Linked DNA regions of Homo sapiens: regions 2, 3 and 4 are each linked to region 1. Evidence: promoter capture Hi-C in 16 types of primary human blood cells and fetal thymus (Javierre and others, 2016). All regions are on one chromosome and are shown on one strand. The core of a region is centred on a gene start or on the middle of the fragment in contact, and the rest is flanking DNA. Distances in the headings are between cores, read along the strand shown.

Region 1 (6,331 bases), core at 1,114-3,613:
TTACAGCTGGTTGGGCAGAGCTGTGCCCCCTCAGCTTACCTGGCACCAGGGGACAGGTAGAGACTGTCACACAAAGGGCAGACAGACCCTGCTTTTCTATGGGGGGGAGCCACCTTGGGGCCTTGGGAATAACAGACTGGCACCCAAGTCCCTGGGGTCTGGTGCTCTAGGGACAGAACGACCATAAGCCTCAGAGTCCCATTCCTCATACCCCTCGGGACTGCAAACTCAGGGAAGGCCCTCCATGGAAACCCCTCCTAGTGTAAGTTCCAACTGTGCCAAGGGACTGAGCGGAGCGAGGAGAGGAGGGGTGGAGAGGGAGGAATTCCCAGTTTCCCTAGAATGGGAGGGAATCTGACAGGGAGATGAATGTCCTGGAAAAAAGCGCTGTCTTTGCCTGACAGACCCTGGGGCCTGTCCTGGCTCAGTCACTCTCTTACTGTGTGACCTTGGGCAACTTCCTTCACCTCTCTGAGCCTTGGTTTCCCTATCTGTAAGTTGAGGATCAAAAGAACCCTTTCCTTATTTACCACCGCTCTAGCCAGGTCGGTAGAAATGAGGTGAGGGGCATGAAGGGTATGTAAATGATGCACACAGCAGTTACTACCAAACATGGTGAGGCAGAAGGGGGCGGGGAGTCATGGTTCCCAAAAAGCAGAGACCCTGAGGATGGCTTCGAAGCCCCCCTCTCCACTGGAGCAATCCCACTCATGTGTCATACCCCAGCAAAACCTTCCCTGATTATCTACCCTGCCTTACCCCCACTCACTCCCATCAGAATAAATCATCCAATTATCTGGCCTTTGTGCAAACCTCCCCACAGCCCTGGGCCCACAGTGCCCAGCACTGGGGCTGCAGCCTCCCCAACAAGGCTGTCAGCCTGTCTAGTGAAGGGCTGCATGGAAGAAAGGTCTCCTTTGGTTTCATCTATGCTCGAGCCTCCATCCCAGAGCCAGGCTCACAGGGGTCAGGGGGAGCCCCCACAGCTGCCGGGCTCATACAGTCCAACTCTGCTGCCAACTTGGGCTCCTTCGGGGCTAGCAGGAGCTTCTGACACTCAGCCAGCCAGTGCTGGGAATGCTTGTCTGCTCCCCGGCTTCCACAGCGGCTGGAGTTGAGATTTCCCACATTTCAGTCCTCTAGGGCCGAGGATGAGGATGGGGGTACCCTATGGAAGGATGGCACGGCTTCCTGCCCATCCCCAGAGGCAGACAAAAGCACCCGGCATTCCACTTCCACTCCCACTCCCATGCCTCTGGCTGCAAGCAGCAACCCCAACTACTCCGGTGGCTCTGAGGGGCTTCCACCAGGTGCCACCCGCCCAACTGGGAGGCTGCAGCCCCAGGCGACCAGTTCTCAAGAAACAAGGTCTTCTGCCCCCAAGGACCTTTCCAGTGGTATAGGGCTGGGTGTGGAGAGGAAGAGGACAAGGGCCTCTGTGCGGTTAAACCCAGAAGAGTAAAGGCAGATGGGCAGAGAGGAGTGGGTGAGCAAATTGTGTTCATGTGTGTGTATGTGTGTGCCTGTGTGTGTGTGCGCGCGCGCGCACCAGTGTGTCTGCAGGTGGGCAGGCAAGAGTTGTGGCGAAGCGTGTGCGCCAGCTGGCAGAGTGAGCCCACCGGCGCAGTGCCTGATGTGCGTGTGTAGTGGGCATAAGTGTAAAGGCTTGCAGTGAGGAGGGGGACCTGAGGTGTGTGGAGATGTGCAGGGTAGGAGTTGTGAGTGTGAGAAAGCAGCGACTGTGGCTCTGAGTGTGTCCGCGGCTGTGCATATCGGTGTGGCCATGCAGGTGTGCGTATCCGCGCGAGTGTGTGGGGAGGAGGTTCGGGGGTGCGCCCCGGGTGCCCCCTTCTCTGCAGGGCCAGGGTGCCAGGGCGGGTCCACCGCGCCGGCAGGGGGCGCCCCGGGATGCCCGCCACGACTGGCGCCGGTTCGAGCCCCGGGGCGGCCAAGTTGGAGTGGCGCGGCCCGGGTTGGGGTTTGGTGGGGAAGTCCGCGGGGGCGGCGACCGAACTCACCGTGGCCGGAGACGTGGTTGTCCCAGGGCGCGTGGCCGGCGGGCCGCGTGGCGCCGCCGAGTTGCAGGAAAAGTGCCAGGTAGTGGAGGGCGCCCAGCGCTACGGCGAGCGGGGCCCCCATCGTGCGCTCTCGGGCCGGGGGCGCCGCCGCCTCACATCTGGGCCCCGGAGACCGCAGAACCGGCGCCAGCTGTCCCCTGCCCTGAGCGGCCTGGCTGCCCGGCTCCGGCAGCTGCCCCTCGCCCGCTGTCCCCGGACCCGGCCCAGCTCCCAGCCCTCGCCCGGCTCCGGCCCAGCCCCGGCTTCGGGGAGCGAGCGCACGCCCAGCCGGCCGCCTCCGACTGCGGGACTCTTCCCTTCCGCGGAAGGCCACGCCGCGCCGCCGCCGCACCCTCCTCCCTCCTCCCGCCTCCCTCCTCCCCTCCCTCCTCCCCTCCCTCCTCCCGCTCGGAGCAGGCGGCGGAGGGATCTGCCGCTTGATTTATCATCAAAGTTTTGCCCAGGCTGGGATTTTTAAAGCGGTACCCGCAACTTTCCCCCGCCCGAGTGCGGAGGCGGGGCCGGGATGGGGCGGAGAGAGCCACCCCAGGGACGCGGTTCCCGCAAAGCACGACCCAACGGGCTTCAGCCACAGAAATGCCGTCCAGCGGGGAGAGGGAGAAAAGCCAGGGCACCCGCCGCCAGGCCAGCGCACTCAGAGGCTCCTAACTTTACCGGCAGGGCGGGGCCGGGGTCAGGGGCCAGTGGGGCTGGGGGTGAGGGCGAGGTAGGGTGGGAGCCTGGGCTGAGACCCAGGGGACCTGGTGATAGCTCTGCCGCCGACCTCGGCTCGCTGTGTGATCGCGTCCGGGTGTCTACCCCTCTCTGAACCTCGAAGTCTTCATCTGAGAAATAGGGGTAATAGCTGTCTGCGGGGGTCCTGGTGAGGATTTGCGAAATCGTGCATGCAAAGCGCTTAGCATAATGCTGCCTACGTGGTAGGAGCTCAGTAGTTATTATTGTCGGTGTTCCCCTTTCTGGGACTCAGTTTTCGAGTCTTTGTAATGGGAGAGAGACAGGCCAGTTAGTTGTTGCGGCTCCTGGCTCTTGAAGATACTGGACCTTATGTGGTGGATGGGATCGCCCCCTTCTGGACTGTAGGCTCCTTCCCTAGACCAATGAGCCTTGATGGTGTGTGTGTGCATGAGTGTGTGTGTGCGTGTGCGTGTGCGCGCGCGTATGCGTGGGTGTATGTGTGTGTGAGTGTGGCAGGGGAGGGGGATAGGGCACCATTCCCATTCCCAAGAGCAAGAATCCAACAAAGTCCTCCAGTTCCTTCCCAAGCCGTGTTACTGGGGCTGATGGGACAGACAGGAGGGCGGAACTGTGGTCCCATTTAAAAGATAAGGAAGCGCCTGAAATCAGGTAATTAGCTTCTCTGAGGTCCCACGGCGAGTCGGGCGAGGCCCCTGACTCCTGGGCGGGGTCCCTCCTGCTCTCATCCCTTGCCCTTCCCCAGGCCTCCCTGCTCACACAGCCTGGTCCTCCCGGTTTCAGCACCACGGAGGAGGACAGCGCCAGCCCCCCCCCCGCCCCCCGCCCCCCGCCCCACCCGGGCCCATCCTTTGGGCACCGTGGACAGCGTCTCAACTGGCCCTTTGATGCTAGGGTTCACACCGTGGACAGACCCTCAGACTTTCTTCCCCGTCCCCGTCGAACAGGGTCAACCCCTCCGACAGCCCACTCCCCACTCCAGAACACAGGTGGATCCCGCGTCCAGCCGTGTGTACAGCGCCCAAGTTTGAGAACAAGGTTAGAGACCAAGGAACATAGCCCCTCGCCGTCTTCCCTCTGTCTTAGCGCCCCCCTTCCAGTATTATGGGGGGGGGGTAGCACACCGGATGGGGCCCGTGGTAGCCAGCAACAATCCAGCTCCTTCCAAACTAAGGACACCTCCTCCACGATGTCCCGCACTTACAAGCACTGTGTTCTAGCACCGTCCACAGCCCCCGCGCTCCCTTCAGTACCGAGGACAGGTCCCAAGCGTCGACCGCTTCCCCCACCCCCCGAACCTTCTGGACCACATGCCTTGGAGGAAGGGGCCGTGTTTGCCTGATTCTCTCACTTCTCACTTTCTTCCCACACAGAGGTGGTGTTTAGGTTATCCTGGGCTGGCCAGGCGTCTTGGACTCTATGCACGTGTTTTCTCATTCATTAACTACCCTGAACCCCGCTCCCAGCGAAATGAACTACTGCTTCCATCATAAAGATATGGAAACTGAGAATCCTCCAGATCACATAGCAGCCACCATGTTAGCCAGACTAAAACCCAGGACTCCTTCAACCCCAGCCTGAGGCCTCACCAGGAGACTGTGGTGACAGAACTGGGACTCAAACCCGGGCTTTCTCCTCTTAAACCACAGATTGGAGGGAGCAGACACAGGCAAGGGGACAGGGAGGGAGAGGAGATTAAAGAGGAGTAAACAAGAGATTGCTCAGGCCTGCAGAGGAAGGGGGTCTGGCGGGATGGCAGCACATTGCTGCTGTGCCCCTAGCCCACCGGCTGACCTTCAGAAATCTTTTCTCTTTGAAGCCTGGAACAAGGTCAAGGTTCCTTCAAGGACAGACATCCAGGGATTGTATGCCTTTGAAAATGCTCGTGATCGGCCAGGTGTGGTGGCTCACGCCTGTAATGCCAGCACTTTGAGAGGCCGAGGTGGGCATATCACGAGGTCAGGAGTTCGAGACCAGCCTGACCAACATGGTGAAATCCCATCTCTACTAAAAATACAAAAATTAGCCAGGAGTGGTGGTGGGCACCTGTAATCCCAGCTACTCAGGAGGCTGAGGCAGGAGAATCGCTTGAACCTGGGAGGCGGAGTTTTCAGTGAGCCAAGATCACACCATTGTACTCCAGCCTGGGTGACAGAGTGAGACTTCATCTCAAAAAAAAAAGGAAAAAAGAAGAAAATGCTCATGATATAATGGTTCTGCTAAAAAAACCCTCTGATGGCCTGTTTATGTGAGAAATCCTGACTTCTCTAGTTTGCATTCAGGGTCCCAGACTCACCTCCTGCACATATCCTGTGCTCTCTTGGGCATGCCTTGGCCTCATTACATCTTCAACCTTCCCAGTGCTTCCCCTGTGCTTGTATGCCTTCCCCTCTGTCTAGCTGAGTCCCCAGTTGGGCGAGGTCCAGCCTGAGTCCCCATGGGAAGAAATGCCTGCTGCCTTCTCCCAGTCCCCAAGCCTCTGTTGGCTCATCACTGTATGCCCAGCATGGCCCTAAGAACTTTCATTATTCCCCTTAATCCTCAGAACCACCAGGCCAGGTAGGGTAGGATGGTGTGGTTAGAAGTGTGGGCTCTAGAGCCATATTCTCTGTTTTGAATCCTGCCATTTGGTAGCTGTGTAAACTTAGACAAGTTGCTTAGCCTCCCTGTGCCTCAATTTTCTCGTCTGTAAAACAAGGGTAATAATACCTCCTTCACAGCAGGGTGGTGGGGATTAAATGAGTTGTTACATGGAAAGCACTTAGAACAATGCCAGGCACATGGCAAATACATGATACATGTTGACTAGTGTTCTTGATATCTACAGATGAGGACATAGGTTCAGAAAGGTTAGGTATTTTGCCTAAAGCGACATAGCAAGGCCATGATGTGTTTGATTCCAGAGCCAATCAAACATTTCATATGTTTGATTCCAACCTACCCTCTTGGCACCTTAAGAAACTAAGACCCAGAGAAAGTAATTCACTTTCTCAGAGCCACACAGCCACTCATGACAGAACTGGATCCAGGTCCTTTGTCTCCCAACTCAGAGACCTCCCACTATACTGTACTGTCCCACTTGTATTTCCTGCAGCACCTAAACTACACTTTACAGTTTACAAATCACATTCACACCCATGATCTCCTATAATTCATACAACAACCCCTGAGGCTGCTATTATACCCTTCCTTCTTTTACAGATGGAGAAACAAAGCTCAGAAAGATGATGTAACCTGCACAAAGTTGCACAGTGAGGTAGGGCAGAGGCTGAATGTGAACGGACACATCCCAGCCCATCCTCCTCCCCTGTGTAATTGTGCCTCTTGTCTGCTTCCCAATGCAAGTGTAATCTCTGGGCACCGTGGAAGCCGAGAGCCTAGTGGAGGCAGAAGGTAAGCAAAGACTAGCCCAGGAAACAGTCTCTAGGAATTCACTAGAGTGGGTGACGCCTGTCACTCATTTCATTCTGGGAATGCTGCAGGAGATGGAAAGCCTCCCATCCCTGGAGGCAACTAACATGCCTCTAGTGGTCGTGTGGATGCCATGAGGCAAATATCAC
Region 2 (6,331 bases), core at 1,279-3,778, 350 kb after region 1:
GGTGTGGTGTTGCATGCCTGTAATCCTAGCTACTCGGGAGGTTGAAGCAGGAGAATCGCTTGAACCCGGGAGGCGGAGGTTGCGGTGACCCAAGATCACACCATTGCCCTCCAGCCTGGGCAACAAGAGCGAAACTCCATCTTTAAAAAAAAAAAAAAAAAAGTATAAGGAACCACAAAAGACCCCAAATAACCAAAGAAATCCTGAGCAAAAAAACCAGTTGGTAGTATCACACTAGCTGACTTCAAAATATACTACAAAGTTAACCAAAACAGCGTGGTACTGGCATAAAAACAGACACTTAGACCAGTGGAACAGAATAGAGAACCCAGAAATAAATCCATGCCTTTACAGCCAACTCATTTTTGACAAAGGCACCAAAAGCATACGTTGGAGAAATATTAATAATAGTCTCTTCATTAAATAGTGCTGGGAACACTGAATATTCATATGCTGAAGAATGAAACTAGACAACTTTATATATTTTACCATATATAAAAATCAAATAGAAATAGAGTAAAGGCTTAAATAAAAGACCTGAAACTATGAAACTATTAGAAGAAAACATTGGCCCCGTCCGGGAGGTGGGGGGCAGCCCCCCCCCGGCCAGCCGCCCCGTCTGGGAAGTGAGGAGCCCCTCTGCCCGGCCGCCACCCCATCTGGGAGGTGCACCTAACAGCTCATTGAGAGCGGGCCATGATGACGATGGCGGTTTTGTCGAATAGAAAGGGGGGAAATGTGGGGAAAAGAAAGAGAGATCAGATTGTTACTGTGTCTGTGTAGAAAGAAGTAGACATAGGAGACTCCATTTTGTTCTGTACTAAGAAAAATTCTTCTGCCTTGGGATGCTGTTAATCTATAACCTTACCCCCAACCCCCTGCTCTCTGAAACATGTGCTGTGTCCTCTAAGGGTTAAATGGATTAAGGGCGGTGCAAGATGTGCTTTGTTAAACAGATGCTTGAAGGCACCATACTCGTTAAGAGTCATTACCACTCCCTAATCGCAAGTTCCCAGGGACACAAACACTGCGGAAGGCGGCAGGGCCCTCTGCCTAGGAAAACCAGAGACCTTTGTTCACATGTTTATCTGCTGACCTTCCCTCCACTATTGTCCTATGACCCTGCCAAATCCCCCTCTCTGAGAAACACCCAAGAATGATCAATAAATACTAAAAAAATTAAAAAAAAAAAAAAAAAGCATTGGGGAAATCCTTCAGGACATTGGTCTGGGCAAATATTTTTTAAGTAAGACTTCAAAAGCACTGGCAACAAAAGTAAAAGTAGACAAGTGGGATTTCATCAAGCTAAAAAGCTTCTGCACAGCAAACGAACAAAGAATCAACAAAGTGAAGAGAAAACATACAGAATGAGAGAGAATATTTGCAAGCTATCCATCCAACAAGGGACTAATAACCAGAAATAAAAGGTATTCAAACAACTTAACAGCAAAAAAAAAAAAAAAAAAAAATCAAATTATCAGTTTCAAAAATGGGCAAAATACCTGAATAGGCATCTCTATGTCTTCAAAAGAAGACATACGAATGGCTAACAGGTATATGAAAAAATCCTTAACAGCACTAATCATCAGGGAAATCCAAATCACAACCACAATGAGATATCATCTCAACCCATTAAAAATGGCTATTATCAAAATGACAGAATAACAGATGCTGGCAAGGAGGCAGAGGAAGGGGAATGCCCATACACTGTTAGTGGGAATGAAAGTTAGTACAGACACTATGGAAAACAGTATGGAGGCTTCTTAAAAAAACTAAAAATAGGCCGGGTGTGGTGGCTCACGCCTGTAATCTCAGCACTTTGGGAGGCCAAGGAGGGTTGATCATGAGATCAAGAATTCAAGACCAGCCTGGCCAGCATGGTGAAACCCTGCCTTTACTAAAAATACAAAAAAAAAAAAAAAAATTAGCAATTAGCCAGTCATGGTGGCATGCACCTGTAGTCCCAGCTACTCAGGAGGCTGAGACAGGAGAATTGTTTGAACCCAGCAGGTGGAGGTTGCAGTGAGCCGAGATTGAGCCACTGCACTCCAGCCTGGGTGACAGAGCAAGATTCCATTTCAAAAAAAAAAAAAAAAAACTAAAAATAGAACTACCATATCATTCAGCAATCCCACTATTGGGTAGCTATCCAAAGGAAAGGAAATCAATATATCAACGAGATACCTGCACTTTCTTTTTTTTTTTTTTTTTTTTTTTTTTGAGACGGAGTCTCGCTAGGTCGCCCAGGCCGGAGTGCAGTGGCGCGATCTCGGCTTACTGCAAGCTCCGCCTCCCGGGTTCACGCCATTCTCCTGCCTCAGCCTCCCGAGTAGCTGGGACTACAGGCACCCGCCACCAGGCCCGGCTAATTTTTTATATTTTTAGTAGAGATGGGGTTTCACCATGTTAGCCAGGATGGTCTCGATCTCCTGACCTCGTGATCCGCCCGCCTCGGCCTCCCAAAGTGCTGGGATTACAGGCGTGAGCCACTGTGCCCAGCCAATACCTGCACTTTCATGTTTATTACAGCACTATTCACAACAGCTGAGATATGGAATCAACCTAAGTGTCCATCAACAGATGAATGGATAAAGAAAATGCAGTATATACACACAATGAAATATTATTCAGCCATAAAAACAATGAAATTCTGTCATTTGCAGCAACATGGATGGAACTGTATGTCATTATGTTAAGTAAAATAATCCAGGCACAGAAAGACAAATATCACATGTTCTCATTCATATGTGGGAGCTAAAAAAATAGACTTGATGGATATAGTGAGTAGAATGTTGGTTACCAGAGGCTGGGAAGGGTAGAGGGAAGGGTGGATAGAGAGAGTTTGGTTACTGGGTATAAAAATACAATTAGACAAAAGGAATCAGTTCTAGTGTTCGACAGCACAGTAGGGTGACTACAGTTAATAAGAATTTGTTATATATTTCAAAATAGCTAAAAGAGAAGATTTGGAATGTCCCCAACACAAGGAAATGATAAATGTTTGAGGTTCCTAATTACCCTCACTTGATCATTATCCATTGTATACATGTATCAAATTGTCATATGTATTCTATAAATATGTACAACTATTAGGTATCCCAAAAAAAAGACTTTCCAGACAAATAGAAGCAGACATATTTCACTTGCAGTAGACCTTCACTACAAGAAATAATAAAGGAAGTTCTTCAAGCAGAGGAAGTAATAAAGAGCTGAGATTACAGGTGTGAGCCACTACACCCAGCTGACTTTTTTTTTTTTTAATTACTCTGGTTATTTTAGGTCCTTTCCATTTCTATATAAGGTTTAGAATTATCTCATTAACCTTTACAAAAGTCTTTTGGAATTTTCCTTGGGATTGTGTTTAATTTGTAGATGAATTTGTTAAGAAATAATTTCTTAATATCAAGTCATAAGGCCCATGAACATAGCATGTCTCTCCATTTATTTCAGTCTTTTGAAATTTCTCTCAGCAAGGCTTTTTCGTGTCGAGGTGTGGTGTTGTATATACTTCGGTTTTCGCCCACTGTTCTTGGCTCCTAACTCCCACAGCCCTTGTTCCAATCTTTTGCGATCATGTTTGTGTCAGGCCTCAGGTGGGCCTCTTTCTGGCCTTCTCCTGCCCTCCTTGCTCCTGCCCCAAGGCAGGATTCTAATGTTCACCTACTTTTCTGATTTGGGGTCTTAAGACCCTTACACGAGAGGGTCCTACTTAGGGGAAGGAATGCTCATGTCATGAAGCTTCCAGAAAAACCCAAGAGGACAGGGTCGGTGAGCTTCTAAATAGCTGAACACTGGGAGGTTCCTGGAGGGTGGCGCCCTGGGGAAGGTATGGAAGTGCCTCACCTCTTCCCCCAAATCTCACCCTTCACTCTCTTCATCTGTATCCTATGCAATATCCTTTATAATAAATCAGTAAACATAAGTGTTTCCCTGAGTCCTGTGAGCTGCTCCAGCAAACTAATCGAATCCAAAGAGAGGGTCGTGGGAAGCTCAACTTGAAGCTGATCAGTCAGAAGTTCTGGAGGCCCGGACTGGTAGGCACGGGTGGATGGGCACGGGTGGCAGTCTTGGGGACGGAGCCCTTAACTTGTGTGAACTGACACTGTCTCTGTGTAGACAGTGTCGGAACTGAATTAGAGGACACCCAAATATTCAACAAATATTCACTGAGCACCTATACTATTTCACCAGGTACTATGCTATAAAGAAAGAGTTACATCAGTGAACGCAACAGGCAAATATCCCTGCCCACATGGAGCTTTCATTGTAGAGGAGGAGACAGGTAATAAACACTAACCATAGCTGGGAGCGGTGGCTCACACCTGTAATCCTAGCACTTTGGGAGGCCAAGGCGGGCAGATAACTTGAGGTCAGGAGTTCAAGACCAGCCTAGGCAACTGGTGAAACCCAGTCTCTAACAAAAATACAAAAATTAGCTGCGTGTGGTGGTGTGGGCCTGTGGTCCCAGCTACTCAGGAGGTTGAGGTGGGAGAATCGCTTAAGCCCAGGAGGCATAGGCTGCAGTGAGCCACAATTGTGGCACTGCACTCCAGCTTAGGTGACAGAGTGAAGTCCTGTCTCAAAACAAAAACAAACAAACAAACAAACCAAGCAATAAGCATACTAAATAAAAATTATGTAATATCTTACCAAGCCATCAGTGCTATGGGGAAAAACATAGAGCAGGGAGAGAGGGATTCGAGGGTGGGGGTAGGTTGCAGTTTCAGAAAGGATGGTCAGGGTCAGCCTCTTTATAGGACATACTTAAGTAAAGACTTACAGGACGTGGGCTGGGCACGGTGGCTCATGCCTGTAATGCCAGCACTTTGGGAGGCCAAGGTGGGCAAATCATGAGGTCAGGGGTTCGAGACCAGCCTGGCCAACATGGTGAAACCCCGTCTCTACTAAAAATACAAAAAATTAGCTGGGTGTGGTGATGGGTGCCTGTAATCCCAGCTACTTGGGAGGCTGAGGCAGGAGAATCGCTTGAACCCGGGAGGCGGAGGTTGCAGTGAGCCGAGATCACACCACGGCACTCCAGACTGGGCAACAGTGCAAGACTCCGTCTCAACTAAAAAAAATAAAAAACCTTACAGGACGTGAAGAAGTGAGTCATGAAAATATCTGGGAAGAGCATTCCAGCAGAGGGAACGGCCAGTGCAAGTTTGTAAGTGGGGAGCATGTCTGCAATCTTCAAGGAATGACAATGAGGCTGGAGTGGTGTGAGGATAAGGTCAGAGGGATAGCACAGAGCCAATTCGCAGAGAGTCTTACAGGATTTAGGATTTAGTTCTGGAAGAGATAGAGGGACATCAAGGATTTTGAGTACAGTATTGATATAATCTGGTTTTTGGTTTTGTTTTTGCTTCAAGACAAGGTCTCGCTCTATCGCCCAGGCTGGAGTGCAGTAGGTTGATCCCAGCTCAAGTGATCCTCCCACCTTAGCCTCCCAACTAGCTGGGACTACAGGTGTGTGCCACCACATCTGTCTAGTATTGACATAATCTAATTTATTTTTAACAAAATTACTCTGGCTGCTTGTCTTGACTATAGCAGAGCAAGGCTAGAAACACGAAGGGCAGGAAAGAGGCATTTGCAATAATCCAGGTGAAAGATGATCATACCTTGGACCAGGGTATTAGTCATAGAAATGGTGAGATGTAGTTGGATTCTGGAGATATTTCAAAGGTAGAGTCACAGAGATTGACCAGATGTAGAGAAAGAAGAGTGGAGGATGATTTGAAGGTGTTTCACCTGAGAAAATGGAAGGATAGCATTGCCATCAATGAGACAGGACCACAGGTAGAGCAGTTTGGGATCAAGAAACAAGGGTCAAGATCTCTGTTTTGGACATGTTGGATTTGAGATGCCTGTTAGACATCCCAGTGAAGGTAACTAGTAGACAGTTGAACATACAAACTTGGAATCCAGAAGAATGATATTAACCCCCTTCTCTGATAGAGGTGGACACTGATAATTCATTCCTTATCAAAATGATGTAATGACTTTTGTACAACAACCTTTTGTTTCTGGAAGCCATCTGAAGCAATCTCCAGAATCTGTCCTTCTGTAGACTGTGTCAAGTTATTCACTGATGTCCGCAAAACGATGGAAGAAGGGTTCTTATCTACTCACAGCTGCTTTCCAGCTTGGGAAAATACTTACGAAGACCTTTTAATTCAGTTGTTTAAATGTCTCTTCATCGTGTTCAAAATACTTTCACCAAGTTCTTCAGCTGAGTTTATAACCTGATCGTTGAGACCACAAAAAGGTTTTCAGCATTTGTCTTACAGTTGACAAGTGTGTAGGAATAGAGATCTCCTTCACAGGA
Region 3 (6,331 bases), core at 1,496-3,995, 320 kb after region 1:
TTCTGGTCTTCGTGGTTTCTCATATAAAGTCAGCTGTTAATCTTCTTGAGGACTGCTTGCACCTGGTAAATCACTTTTATCTTGAGACTTTCAAGATTCTCTCTGCTTTGGGCTTTCAACAGTTTGACAATGAAGTGCCTAGATACAGACCCCTTTAAGTATATCCTTCTTGGAGTTTGTCGCACTTCTTGGATGTGCAGATTAATGTTTGTTGACTAAACTTGTGGAGGTTTTGGTCATTATTTCTTCAAATATTCTTTCTTCCTCATCTCTCTCTCCCATCTTTCTGAGACTTCCATTTTGCACATGTTGGTACACTTGGTGGTATCCTACAGGTCTCTGAGGCTCTAGAGTTCACTTCTGTTTCTCAGACTGGTCCAGTGACCAGATCCCATCCTGAAGCTGTCTAGGGCCCCCCACCTACCTCATCAGTCATGTCATTAGCATACAAAAGACACTAATTACTCTGGAGATTCCAAAAGTTTTAGGAGCTATATCCCAAGAAACAGGTAGAAAACTAAATACCACTGTTTTCAAAAATATCACAGAGATAGGGAGAGAGAAATGGGATTAAGGCAGGTTAAAACATCATGGAGGTGGATGCCTGTGGTGCCAGCTACTCAGGAGACTGGGAGGTGGGAGGATTGCTTGAGCCCAAGAGGTTATGGCTGCCGTGCCATGATCATGCCACTGCACTCTAGCCTGGGTGACAGAGCAACACCCTGTCTTAGAAAAATGAAAACAAAACATCATAAAGCTCATGGTCTTACCAAGATTCAGCTATTTTAAAATCAACACTCCTCAGATTAATGTAAGCTTTTAATTTCCAGTGTTTCAAAAAACTATATTGGAGAGTTTCTCCAGTATTTTCATTGCTTTTATGAAGGAGCAGATTTTTGGAAGTCCTTCCTCCACCATTCAAAAAGCCACTGGGACATGGATTTTTCTTATGTATCTTTTTTAATTGTGTGAAGCTTTTATCATGTCCAGGTATTACCAAATCAAAAAATAAAATAAATCTAAAAATGAAATAGGGTACATACACATCTCCATGTGCACACACAGGATCCAGGAGCCCACATGCATAAGCATAGAAATGTGCCTGTAACACACATTCATTCATCCATGCTGTGGAGTGGCAGGGTCAGCTCTGGATTTCAGGAGTCTCCCCAACCCCTGGTTGCAATGGGGAGCTTGGAGGGGATGAGATGGAAGGCAGAGAAGCCAAGAAGAGGCTGGGGAGTCATCTGGCAGCAGTGATGGTGTGGCATGGACTTGGTCCAGGGGGAGCTACACGCATGTCCACAGCTACTAACTCCTCAGGACCCCATGTGCACACCGGTCTAGGCATGTGCATATGTAAATACAGGGTCCATGTGTTCGGGCATGCATGCATCCGGCAGCATGCTGTTCAAGTTAAAGAGAAATGTAGTACAGACGTCCCAGAAGGGCTGGGGGACTGAATTATAAAACATAAGGGGACTTGGTGAATAGGACAAGATTCTGGAGGGGAGGGGATGAGGAAGATGCAGTTTTCTGGCCTGATGGCCTGGGCCCACCAGCTTCCCTCTATCAGGCAGACCCATGCACCACATTCTGCTCTGGGACCCCCTTTTCTAGCTATGCTGACCCATCCTGGTCATTCCGGAAGCCTATCTCTAGGATAGGGCACAGTTTTGTCAGCCCCTCGTGGAGTTGGCGGGGGGGAGGTGTCATCCTTGGTCACCCTGATTTGTTATCAGCCCTTTCTGTGTCATTCTAGGTCATTTCCCTTCCTTATGAACAATATCTGCAGATGAGAGTAATGTTTGTATCTTGACCTACCCCACCCCTGGAGTTAATCTTATCATGCACTCTGGGTCACTCCACTGCAGAGAGTACACAGGCAAAGGCTGGAAGCTCGCTGGGTAAGCTCCCGGATGTCACAGACATGACTAGCTAATCCCTAACCCCTTCTGACACCAAAGATCACAGGCCTTCTAAGTCCAAGATGCTACAATTCAAGATTTTTCAAAACATGATTTCTTTTTGTTATGAATTACTTCAGACATTCAAAGAATAAATTAATAAAGACCAATGTGCCCATGATCCAGTTTTAACTTATATTAGAATTATGCCTGACTTGCTTCAGTTCTTACCTTTTATTTATTTTTTAAAATGTATTTTGTCAGCAAACAAGCGTATTTATTCCTTCTCGGGTTGATGAGCATTTGGGTTGTTTCCAGGTTTTTGTTATTGTGGACAGAACTGTTATAAGCATTCTTGTCATGTCTGCTGCTGTGTGTGTGCAAGAGTTTCTCTTGGGTATTTACCTGGGAGTGGAATTGCTGAATATTCACCTCCATGAGATACTGCCAAATTGTTTTCCAATGTGGTTGCATCAATTTGCACTCCACCAGCAGTGTCGGGGAGGTCTTGGGGACTTGCATCCTCCGATATCCTTACACAATGGAATGCTATCCAGCAGTCAAAATGAATGAACAACAGCCACAAGCAACAACAAATGTGAATCGTAGCAAAGTAATAGGAAGGGAGAGAAGTCAGCTTCGGAAGGATACAGAGGCCATGCTTCTCTTTTAAAAACTTATAAACAACTTACATACAGAAACACATGTATATGTATATTTATATATAATTTATAACTAATAAAAATATATAAATAAAATGTTACAGATACAATTGAATACCCCTGTATATACCACTCACCAACCCAATTCCTTTCTCTTTCTCCTCCCAACCCCTGAAAAGAAAATGCTTGGCCGGGAGTGGTGGCTCACGCCTGTAATCTCAGCACTTTGGGAGGCCAAGGCAGGCAGATCGCTTGAGGTCAGGAATTCAAGACCAGCCTGGTCAACATGGTGAAACTCCATCTCTACTAAAAATACAAAAAAAAAAAAAATTAGCCAGATGTGGTGGCACGCACCTGTAATCCCAGCTATTCGGGAGGCTGAGATGACAGAATTGCTTGAACCCAGGAGGCAGAGGTTGCGGTGAGCCAAGATTGCACCACTGCACTCCAGCCTGCGTGACAGAGCAAGACTCCATCTCAAAAAAAAAAAAAAAAAAAAAGCAAATGCTCTCAGGGAACAGGGTGTGTAGCCTCTCTACCCATCATGTTTATTTTTATTTATTTTTATTTTTATTTTTTTGAGAGTAACTCTAGAGAGTAGCAGAGATTCTTCACTTGACCAAACTTTAGTCAGGCTCCCGAAACTCTGCTAAGCCCATCTGCATACTTTCTTACAAAATCCAGTTTTAGCAAGAACCCTAAGTCAGTTTAGCAAGAACCCCCTATCCTCAATATCTGATCATCCTTCATATCTAATCAGGCTGTTCACCCTCCACCACGGCCCAGATTATGCCTGATCCCCCTGGCCTGTCTTCAGCAAGAATCCTGTTAGATCAGTTGAGTCAGATTCTCCCTCACCCCTGATGCTTCCTCTCAGTCATTTTCCATCCTTGGACCCCTGCACTGCTCCTTAGCCATAAATCCCACTTGCCCATGCTGTATTTGGAGTTGAGCCCGTTCTTTCTCCCCCACCGCAAATTCCCGTTGCAATGGTCCCTGTTGCCATGGTCCTGAATAAAAAGTCCACCTTACCACTCTTCAACAAGTGTCGTTGAATAAATGTTTCTGTTTTTCTTGTTGTTTTGTTTTGTTTTTTGTTTGTTTGTTTAGATAGCTCTGTCTCCCAGGCTGCAATGCAGTGGCACAATCTCGGCTCACTGCAACCTCTGCCTGCCAGGTTCAAGTGATTCTCCAGCCTCAGCCTCCCAAGTAGCTGGGATTACAGGCATGTGCCACCACACCCAGCTAATTTTTAGTAGAGACAGGGTTTTGCCACGTTGACCAGGTGGGAATAATTTTTTCTCTAACAGATGTGACCCAGCTCCCAGTCACCCCTAGGATCCCCAGTGCAGTCCCCTCAGCTGGGTTTCAGGAAAGGAGTCGAAGGGAAACCCGGAGCCCTTGAACCTGCAGGCCTCTGAGAAAGGAGTCCTACCCCATCTCCAGGCCTGAGGGTGATGTCAGAATCCACAGCCACATCTAGAAGACTTGAGAGCAACGGTGGCCTGTGCCCTACTCCAGGCTGAGCCCCAGTCTGGGTCCACAGGTCTGATATGGCCCAGCAGAGACCCCTGTGCCCAGCATGGTGTGGGAGCATCAGAAAGACTCAAAAGACCAGAGCAGCCTTGTGGACAGTTGCATGCCATGGTGACCAGCCACTGAGGGTCAGAAGGGGCATCATGTCTTGATAGGCAGACAACTGAGGAGTCACCTCTCCTCTCCCATGACCTGTGGCAGTCCCCCAAGTATCATCCAGCCCCATGAAAGAGGGAAGCCCGGTCCGCCTGGGTTTCTTCCATCCTGGCAGAACGGAGCTTGAAATGCAAGTTCGATGCATTATTTAAAAACAAAGGAAGCTACATTTCTTGCACACCTGGGGTGTGGGTGGAGAGTTACACTGAATGCATTCAGAGCTGAGGAATCTGGGTTTCTAGGAAAACAAGCTTTCCAGGTTCTAAGATTCTAAGCTCCCCAAACCTCTAGGTTCAAGGATAATTTGGAAGCAGGAAATGTGTAGCTTTGGGGCTCCTGAGACTTCTGCCAGAGTTACGTCCATTTTCCTGACTCTCCCAGACCCTACGAGACAGCTAAAGATAAGAGATATGGGAAAAAGCCCACCTACATCCCTCCCCAAGATTCTGCTGGCCTTGACAACTCACTGTACCAGCGGGGAAACTGAGGCCTACAGAGGGCCTGACTTTGCCCTGGTCACACAGTCAGCACTAACCCAGGCCACCTCACACATACCCTCCTCCCACGCCCCCTCAATGCGTCTTCCCCAAGTCTGGGCTGCCCCCTTGCCTCTGCCCAGGACAATAGATTCAGGTGGGAGCCGGGGGTCCGCGGGGAGTGGTTGCCTGTGATCCCCATTGCCCGGGCAGGCATGGCCACTCCCTAGGCCCCAGGTCTCTCGCTGCCAAAGGTTGCCATCAATTTTCTGTCCACCACATTTGTCTGCAAACCATGAAGAAAAATCGCTCCCATCTCTCTGCCTCAGCTGCCACTGTGATATATGACTTCAATCAGAGACCCCTCCTCCCCAGAAGCACCCTCCTTCTCCCCCAGTCTCCCCAAGGCTGGGGGTTAGGGGGCAGGGGGAAATGGAGTGATACTGAACCAGCTAATGGTGGTGTGCTTTCAGAGACCCTTTAGGAGATGATGCCCCATCTTGACTTTGTGGAGGAAAGATGGTGTAGACACTGCAGATCATTGCTGTGCAGCCTGTCACCTCTGCATATAATAACACCTCCCCACCTCCTGGACACAAAAGCCACACAAGGTCTGTTTACAGCTTGGTTTTTTGTTTGTTGCTTGTTTGAGACAGGGTCTCGCCCAGGCTGAGAGCAGTGGCACGATCTCAGCTCACCACAGCCTCGACCTCCTGGGCTCAAGCGACCCTCCCACCCCAGCCTCCCAAGTAGCTGGGACTATAGGAACATGCCACCACACCCGGTTAAGTTTTTATTTTTTGTTGAGGGAGTGGGTCTCACTATGTTGCCCAAGCTGGTCTCCTGGGCTCAGTGATCCTCCCACTTCGACCTTCCAAAGTGATGGGATTACAGGCATGAGCCCCTGCACCCAGCCTGTTTACAGCTCTTACTTCATTTGCTCCTTCTGTCATCTCTGCGGGGCTCCTGATGAGACCAATCTTAGTTACATTTACCCTTTTTGCCTAGCCTTATGCTGGGAACTGGGAACCCACAGCCACAGTCCTTGACCAGCCTCAGCATCTCATGACAGAGCCAGACATGAGGGAATAAAGGCAGTGTGGAAATGTAATCACCAAAAACGTCCTGGGTCCATGGGAGCCCCAGATGAGGAGGGAGGTCTCTCTGCTGAGAGCAGGAGTGAGGTGGGATGGAGGAGGCTGGCGTTTGTGTGGCTGGGAGAGCTCTGAGGAGGTGGGCTCTGAGCTGGTTCTGAGGCTCTGAGGTTAGGAGCATAGACTCTGGAGTTGCACTGCCTGCCCTGCCATCCTACTGTGTGACCCAGGGCAAGTTGCTTGACTTCTCTGAGCCTCTGCTGACTTCAGGAGATCTGCAAATGGGAATTTCTCTTAGAGGGGCTGTGAGTGCCAAGTGAATAAGGCATATAAAGTGTGAAGTGCAATACCTGGTGCAGAGGGCTAGCTGGTGTCCTCACAATTTGCAGAGAGTGTCTAGGAGTTTGCCTAAAGGACAATGTGGCAAATGGTTTGGGCAAAGGGAACAGCCTCTGCCAAGGTGTGAACATGGGGAAATAGGAGCCACTGGGAGATGCTGG
Region 4 (6,331 bases), core at 1,115-3,614, 310 kb before region 1:
GCAGTAGGATGCATTACTGAAGTGGCCTCTTGGTCACCTAGCTCTGAATTTTCCTGGCTCCAGAAAGAGGCTGTGGGGCACAGGTCCCCCACAATGAGGCTGTGAAGGGGAGAGAGGCAGGCCTGGGCCAGGCACAGGAGGACAACTAGGGCTTCTCAGGAGCTGTCTCAGCCAAGAGTCACACACTTGATACCTAAAATGGCTTCAGGAATCTTCCAAGACTGAAGACTTCCCCAGGTGTGGTCTAGGGCCTGCCTGCCTCAGAGCCATGAGCAGAGCCGGTCAAAAGGCTTCCTAGGGAATCCTACCCCAGACATTAAAATAGACTCTTGGTGCTGGCAGGTGGCTGGAATCTGCGTTTGTAGCCAAGTGCTCTTCCTGTGTGACTCAGCAAAGTGGGGGTGCATTTGGGGAACACCCGGGGCTGGGGCCTGAGTCCTCCACCCAAAGCCAGGTTTGATTCTTGCATTCCCCTCCCTGCCTTCCATCCAGACAGGCCCAAAGATGCAAGAGGCGTTGATCAGCCCATCTCCATCCATGCCTGTTGCCTCAGAGAGGGCCGACGGCTTTTAAAATGCTGTTGCCATAGCAACAGCATCCAGCCAGTGGGTACCACAGGCAGGGAGCCACAGAAACTGGGGTGCTGGGATGGAAACTGACTTGTGAGAGACCACAGCTACTGCTAGAAGGAAGGGGGGCAAAGCGGGCACAGGTAATCTAAGAATACTTGGGCGGGAGGAGTCCCCAAGGTTACCTTGTGCATCCCTCTGTCCCCAGAAAGAACTGTACCCCAACAATCTCTCCCCTCACTGCATCCCCTGGGGAAGAAGGGAATGCAGAAATGAAATGTCATAATGAGTAACAATGTATAAAAATATCGAATAATAACAGCTAACATTTCTTTTGCATTTTCTTTGTGCCTAGCTTTGAGCTAAATCCTCTAAAAGCTTTACAGGGCTTGTTGAATTTTTTTTACAACATTATGAGGACTGATTCCACCCTATTTTACTGAGGACAAAGCTGAAACTCAGAGAGATTTGGAGGTACCTTGCCCAGTGCCACAGTGAGGGGCAGAGCTGGACTTGATCTGGGCCTAGTTTATTGACTTTGCCCAAATATGCCCACAGTAGGGGCATGGCATGGCATGGCCTCCCCCAGAGATTCCCTGCGAGTGATGACATAGCTTTGAATCAGCAAAGCCTCAGCCCCTGAGAGACTGCTCTGAGGAGGCAGAGGCCACAGTGCCCCTCCATGGGATTTTTAAACAAAGTTTGAAGCCTGCTGTGGTGGAAGAAGATGGGCTTTCAAGGAACCCCAAGTCAGCCAGTGATGTGACTGTCAACATCCCACTGTGATGGGAACACTTTTTTCAAGCTCAAGGGGCTGGTAGGCAAGAGACAGAAAGAGAAGCACAGCCTGGAAGTCAGGCACTTCAGGTGCCACTCTGCCCTGTTGCTGATGGCCTGGTCACCCGAGGCAGGTTGCTTCCTCTCTCTGGTGCTCAGTTTACCCCATCTTTCCAATGGAGGCGTTGGATGGATGAGGATCTTTCTCATCTTGGAGAGCCCTGCTTTTGAATCCAGGCTTAACAGCCTAGTGCCTCTGAGTAGATAGGTGCTCCTCAGTTTTTCCATCTGTCCACTGGATTTGCCAAGCCTGCTGGGTCAGGAAAATAAGATCTCTGGATCCTTGTGTTCCACACCAAGACTTCTTCCTTTCCAGAGGAGTAGCCATCTTGTGAAGGAACAAAGCTTTGAAAAGACTTTTCACTGCTGGGCAGTGATGTGGGGCAGACATAGGACTGAGCCCCAATAGAAGTCTAGGCACTTTACAGTTCGCAAAGCACTTTTTGTCCATCTATTTCCCATCTGATATTTACTACAACCCTTTGGGTCACAGAAGTCATACTCTGAGATGGCCCCATTTTACAGATGGGAAGACTAAAGCCTGGAGAGGGGCAATGACTTGCCCAAGGTCACACAGCCAGGAAAGGGGCCAAGAAGGGGAAAGCACAGGGTCTGGGCCTGGTTCTGGATCAATGCCAAACCCAGGATTGTGGATGAGCGTGTGTTTTGTCAGCCACTTTGAGGTAGGCCCCTCACACCCTTGTGACACAGACAGGGTGGCTGTCACACCCACTTTAGACCCAGACAGGGTGGCTGGCTGGGGTCAGAATACAGTCTGACCTCATAAAGCAGAGATGTCCTGTTCTCCAGGGGCTGTGAATTGGCCTCCAGCCCAGGACAAATTTGCCTCGTCTCAAACCCCAGCTGAAAATAGCTCTCTGAGGCCAGAGCCAGAGAGTCCCCTGTAGGGTAAGTGCTCTGGATAGGCGGCAGGACTCTGGGGGTCCCATTGCCCTCTGCCTGGGGCATGCTGGGGAACTCTGGGTAGTCAGGTACTTCCTTAGGACCTCCTTTCCCCATCTGTGAAATGGAGGGATTAGGTCAGACCAGGAAGGAAAACTGGTGGTGTTTTGCATGTGGAATCTCTGACCTGCCCTTCCAGTCCTGCTTCCCTCTCTGTGCACTGACCATCCATCCAGGTACCCAGGCTGGAAACTTGCAAGTTGTCCTCAAACCTCCCCTTAACCCCTAAATCCACTCTCCTGATCTCTCTGTTATCTTCTACTTCTCTCTCCCTCCATCGTCCTCACCCTCATCCCAGCCTCCATCCTCTAGCCCCAGACAACTATAACAGGGTCCGCAGTGGTCTTCCTGCAGTCACTTGGATCCCCTTCATCTGTTCTCCACCCAGAAACTAGAGGGGTATTTCAAAATGTAATATAATGTCAGCCCCGCTTAACCCTGAACAGTAGCACCTCATAGCTCTCCAGATAGAAAATCCAACCTTTCTGTGATCTACAAAGCCTGTGTTGTCAGCCTCTGCCCTCCACTTCAGCCTCATCTCAATCTCCATGTCTTCTGAGTTCCAGAAGCACTAACTTGTTTTCATTTCCTCAGCCATTCCAAGCTTTTTCTGGGGTCAGGTTCCCCAGAAGTGGACCTAGGGGTGAGGATTCAGGTACAGGTGATTCATTGAAGAGGTGATCACAAGAGAAACCAGAAAGGCAAGCAGAACAGGGAAGGGAGGGAAGCCAAGGTGCAATTTCAGACCAAGTCCCTGCCTCTGCCTGACTGCGTGGGGGAACTCTGGAGGACATTTTACACCTCCAAGGCACTTCAGGCTTTCTGCAGAATCATGTGGCACAAAGCAGAGTCTGGTAGCTCCAGGGCAGACCTTGGAAGAGAGTTGCAAGTGTGGGCCCATAAAAGATAATATTCTGTATCAATAATATGTAAAAAGCTCTCACAGCTAAATACTACTATTAATAATAGTAAATTTTAAACTGGACAAAGGACCTGAATAGGCTTTTCTCCAAAGAAGATGTACAGATGGCCAATAAGCACATGACAAGATATTCAACATTACTGGCCATCAGGGAAATGCAAATCAAAACCACAAGGAGATATTGTTTCACATCCACAAAGATGGCTATAATAAAAAGACGTATAACAAGTGTTGGTGAAGATGTGGAGAAATCAGAACTCTCATACACTGCTGGTGGCAATGTAAAATGGTGCAACTACTTTGGCAAGCAGTTTGCCGGTTCCTCAAACTGTGAAACATCAAGTTATCATATGACCAAACAATTCCATTACTAGGTCAATACCCAAGAGAAATGAAAACATATCCACACAAAAATTTATACATGAATGCTTATTGAGAATTATTTCTGATAGTCAAAAAGTAGAAGCAACCCAAATGTTGATTAGCTGTTGAATGGATTTTTTAAAAACGGATTTTAAAAATATACACATAATGAAATATTATTTAGCCATTAAAAAGGAATGAAGTCACTTCCTAACATTTTACGAAGCCACTCTTATCCTGATATCAAAGCCAAATGTGGACATCACAAAGAAAATTACTAAACTTATGAATATACCTCATGAATATAAATGCAAAAATCCTCAACAAAATGCTAGCAAACCAAACATGACAGCATCTTAAAAGGATTATACAGCATGACCAAGTGGGATTTATTCTCGAAGTGCAAAGATAGCTAAACATAAGAAAATCAATCAGTGTAATATGCCAAATTAATGGAATAAAGGAAATTAAACCACACGACCATCTTAATCAATGCAGAAAAGGCATTTGACAAAACCCAATAGCTTTTCATGATAAAAACACTCAGAAAAATAGGAATAAAAGTGAACATACTCAACATGATAAAAGGCATTTATGAAAAACCCACAACCAACATCAAATTCAATGGTGAAAGACTAAAAGCTTTCTCTCTGAGGTCAGGAGAAAGACAAGAATGCCCACTTGCAGCACTGCTATTCAGTATTTTACTGTAAGTTCTAGCCAGCGCAGTTAGACAAGAAAAAGGGGAAAAAGGCATCCAACTGGAAAAGCAGAAGTAAAACTATTTATATATTTAAAAGATCAGATCTCATTATTTTATATCTCAAAAATCCCAAAGAATCCACACGAAAGCTACTACAGCTAATAAATTCAGCGAAATTTCAAGTTAGAAGATCAACACACAAAAATCAGCTGTGTTTTTATATACCAGCAACAAACAATTCAAAAAGGAAATTAAGAAAGCAATTTCATTTACAACAGCACTAGAAGAATAAAATACCCAGTACTAAATTTAACCAAGGAGATGAAAGATTTATACACGGAAACCTACAAAACATTACTGAAAGAAATTAAAGAAGACCTAAATAAATGGAAAGACACACTATATTCATGGATAGGATTGTTAAGACGTCAATACCACCCAAAGCAATATATAGGTTCAATGTAATCCTATCAAAATTCCAACTGCTTTTTTGTCCAGAAATAAAAAGCCACTTCTCAAATTTAAAACAGATTGCAATAGGCCCCAAATGGCCAAAACATCTTGGAAAGAAGGCCAAAGTTGGAGGACCCAGAGTTTTCAATTTCAAAACTTACTGCAAAGGTATAGTAATCAAAACAGTGTGGTACTTCCATAAAGATAAATGTATGGACAAAGGAATAGAATTTTGAATCCCAAAATAATCCCATGCATCTATGGCCAATGATTTTTGACAAGGGTCCCAAGTCCATTCAATGGAGAAAGAATAGTCTCTTCAACAAATTATGCTGAGACAATTGGATTTCCAAACATAAAAGAATAAAGTTGGACCCCTGCTTCACACCATATTAAAAAATTTACTAAAAATAGATCAACAACCTAAATATAAGAGCTAAAACTATAAAACTCACAGAAAAAGCCAGGTGCATTGGCTCACGCCTGTAATCCCAGCACTTTGGGAGGCCAAGGCAGGTGGATCACGAGGTCAGGAGATCGAGATCATCCTGGCTAACACGGCGAAACCCAATCTCTACTAAAAATACAAAACAAAACAAAACAAAAAAAATAGATGGCCGTGGTGGCGGGTGCCTGTAGTCCCAGCTACTCGGGAGGCTGAGGCAAGAGAATGGAATGAACCTGGGAGGCGGAGCTTGCAGTGAGCCGAGATCCCGCCACTGCACTCCAGCCTGGGCAACAGAGCGAGACTCCATCTCAAAACAACAACAACAACAACAAAAATCATAGAAAAAAAGTAGGGGTAAATCTTAATGAGCTTGGATTTGCCAATAGATACTTCTCAGATATGACACCAAAAATACAATCAACGTAAATAAAAATGGATAAATTAGACTTCATCAAAATTAAAATCTTTAGTGCATCAAAGGAAATTATCAAGAAAGTGAAAAGGCAACATATAGAATGGGAGAAAATATTTGCAAATTGTATATTTGATGAGTTTAATATACAGAATATGTAAAGAATTTATACTACAACAACAAAAAAATACAACCCAATTACCAACTAGGTAAAGAACTTGAATAGTTATTTCTCCAAAGAAGATGTACAGATGGCCAACAAGCACATGAAAAGATACATCACCAGTCAATAGGGAAATGCAAATCAAAATCACAATGAGATACCATCTCATAGCTACTAGGATGGCTATGATGTTTTAAATGCAGCAAATAACAAATGTTGGCAAGGACATGAAGAAATTAGAACCCTTATACATGGTTAGTGGGAATGTAAAACCGTGCAGCTGCTGTGTAAAACAGTTTGGAAGTTCCTCAAAAAGTTAAACATAGAATGACCTAGCAGTTCCATTCCTAGTTACAAACCCAAAAGATTTGAAAACAGAAACTCAAAGAGATTCTTGTATGCCAATGTTTATTGCGGCATTATTTACAATAGCTCAAAGATGGAAATAACCCAAGTGTCCATTAACAGATGAATGAATAAACAAAATATACACATATA

What was found. The method cuts DNA at HindIII sites, captures the fragments that hold promoters and counts their contacts. A CHiCAGO score of 5 or more calls a contact.
Region 2: a fragment that was not itself captured here is called in contact with the fragment with the promoter of VSTM2L in region 1 in 1 of 17 cell types (endothelial precursors); the score reaches 5.5 in endothelial precursors.
Region 3: a fragment that was not itself captured here is called in contact with the fragment with the promoter of VSTM2L in region 1 in 8 of 17 cell types (endothelial precursors, M1 macrophages, M0 macrophages and 5 more); the score reaches 14.3 in endothelial precursors.
Region 4: a contact is called between a fragment that was not itself captured here and the fragment with the promoter of VSTM2L in region 1, in 1 of 17 cell types (endothelial precursors). The highest score is 5.3, in endothelial precursors.

What each region holds. Positions count from the first base shown.
Region 1 is chr20:37,899,159-37,905,489 of GRCh38, reverse strand. VSTM2L (V-set and transmembrane domain containing 2 like) reads right to left here and starts at 2,363. Exons shown (of 4, transcript NM_080607.3): 1 at 2,019-2,363. The coding sequence starts at 2,139. LOC124904896 (a long non-coding RNA gene) reads left to right here. Exons shown (of 3, transcript XR_007067576.1): 3 at 5,973-6,331. RefSeq lists an enhancer at 2,100-3,063. The HindIII fragment of the contact is 14,867 bases long and covers 1-6,331 here.
Region 2 is chr20:37,544,993-37,551,323 of GRCh38, reverse strand. No RefSeq gene overlaps it. Among named protein-coding and RNA genes, the nearest start is that of BLCAP, 20 kb to the right of the region's middle. The HindIII fragment of the contact is 2,425 bases long and covers 1,316-3,740 here.
Region 3 is chr20:37,579,992-37,586,322 of GRCh38, reverse strand. LINC01746 (long intergenic non-protein coding RNA 1746) reads right to left here. Exons shown (of 4, transcript NR_184035.1): 3 at 2,313-2,456. Among named protein-coding and RNA genes, the nearest start is that of LINC01746, 12 kb to the right of the region's middle. The HindIII fragment of the contact is 3,538 bases long and covers 977-4,514 here.
Region 4 is chr20:38,205,067-38,211,397 of GRCh38, reverse strand. It overlaps KIAA1755, which reads left to right. Exons shown (of 14, transcript NM_001029864.2): 14 at 1-895. Among named protein-coding and RNA genes, the nearest start is that of TGM2, 43 kb to the right of the region's middle. The HindIII fragment of the contact is 1,222 bases long and covers 1,754-2,975 here.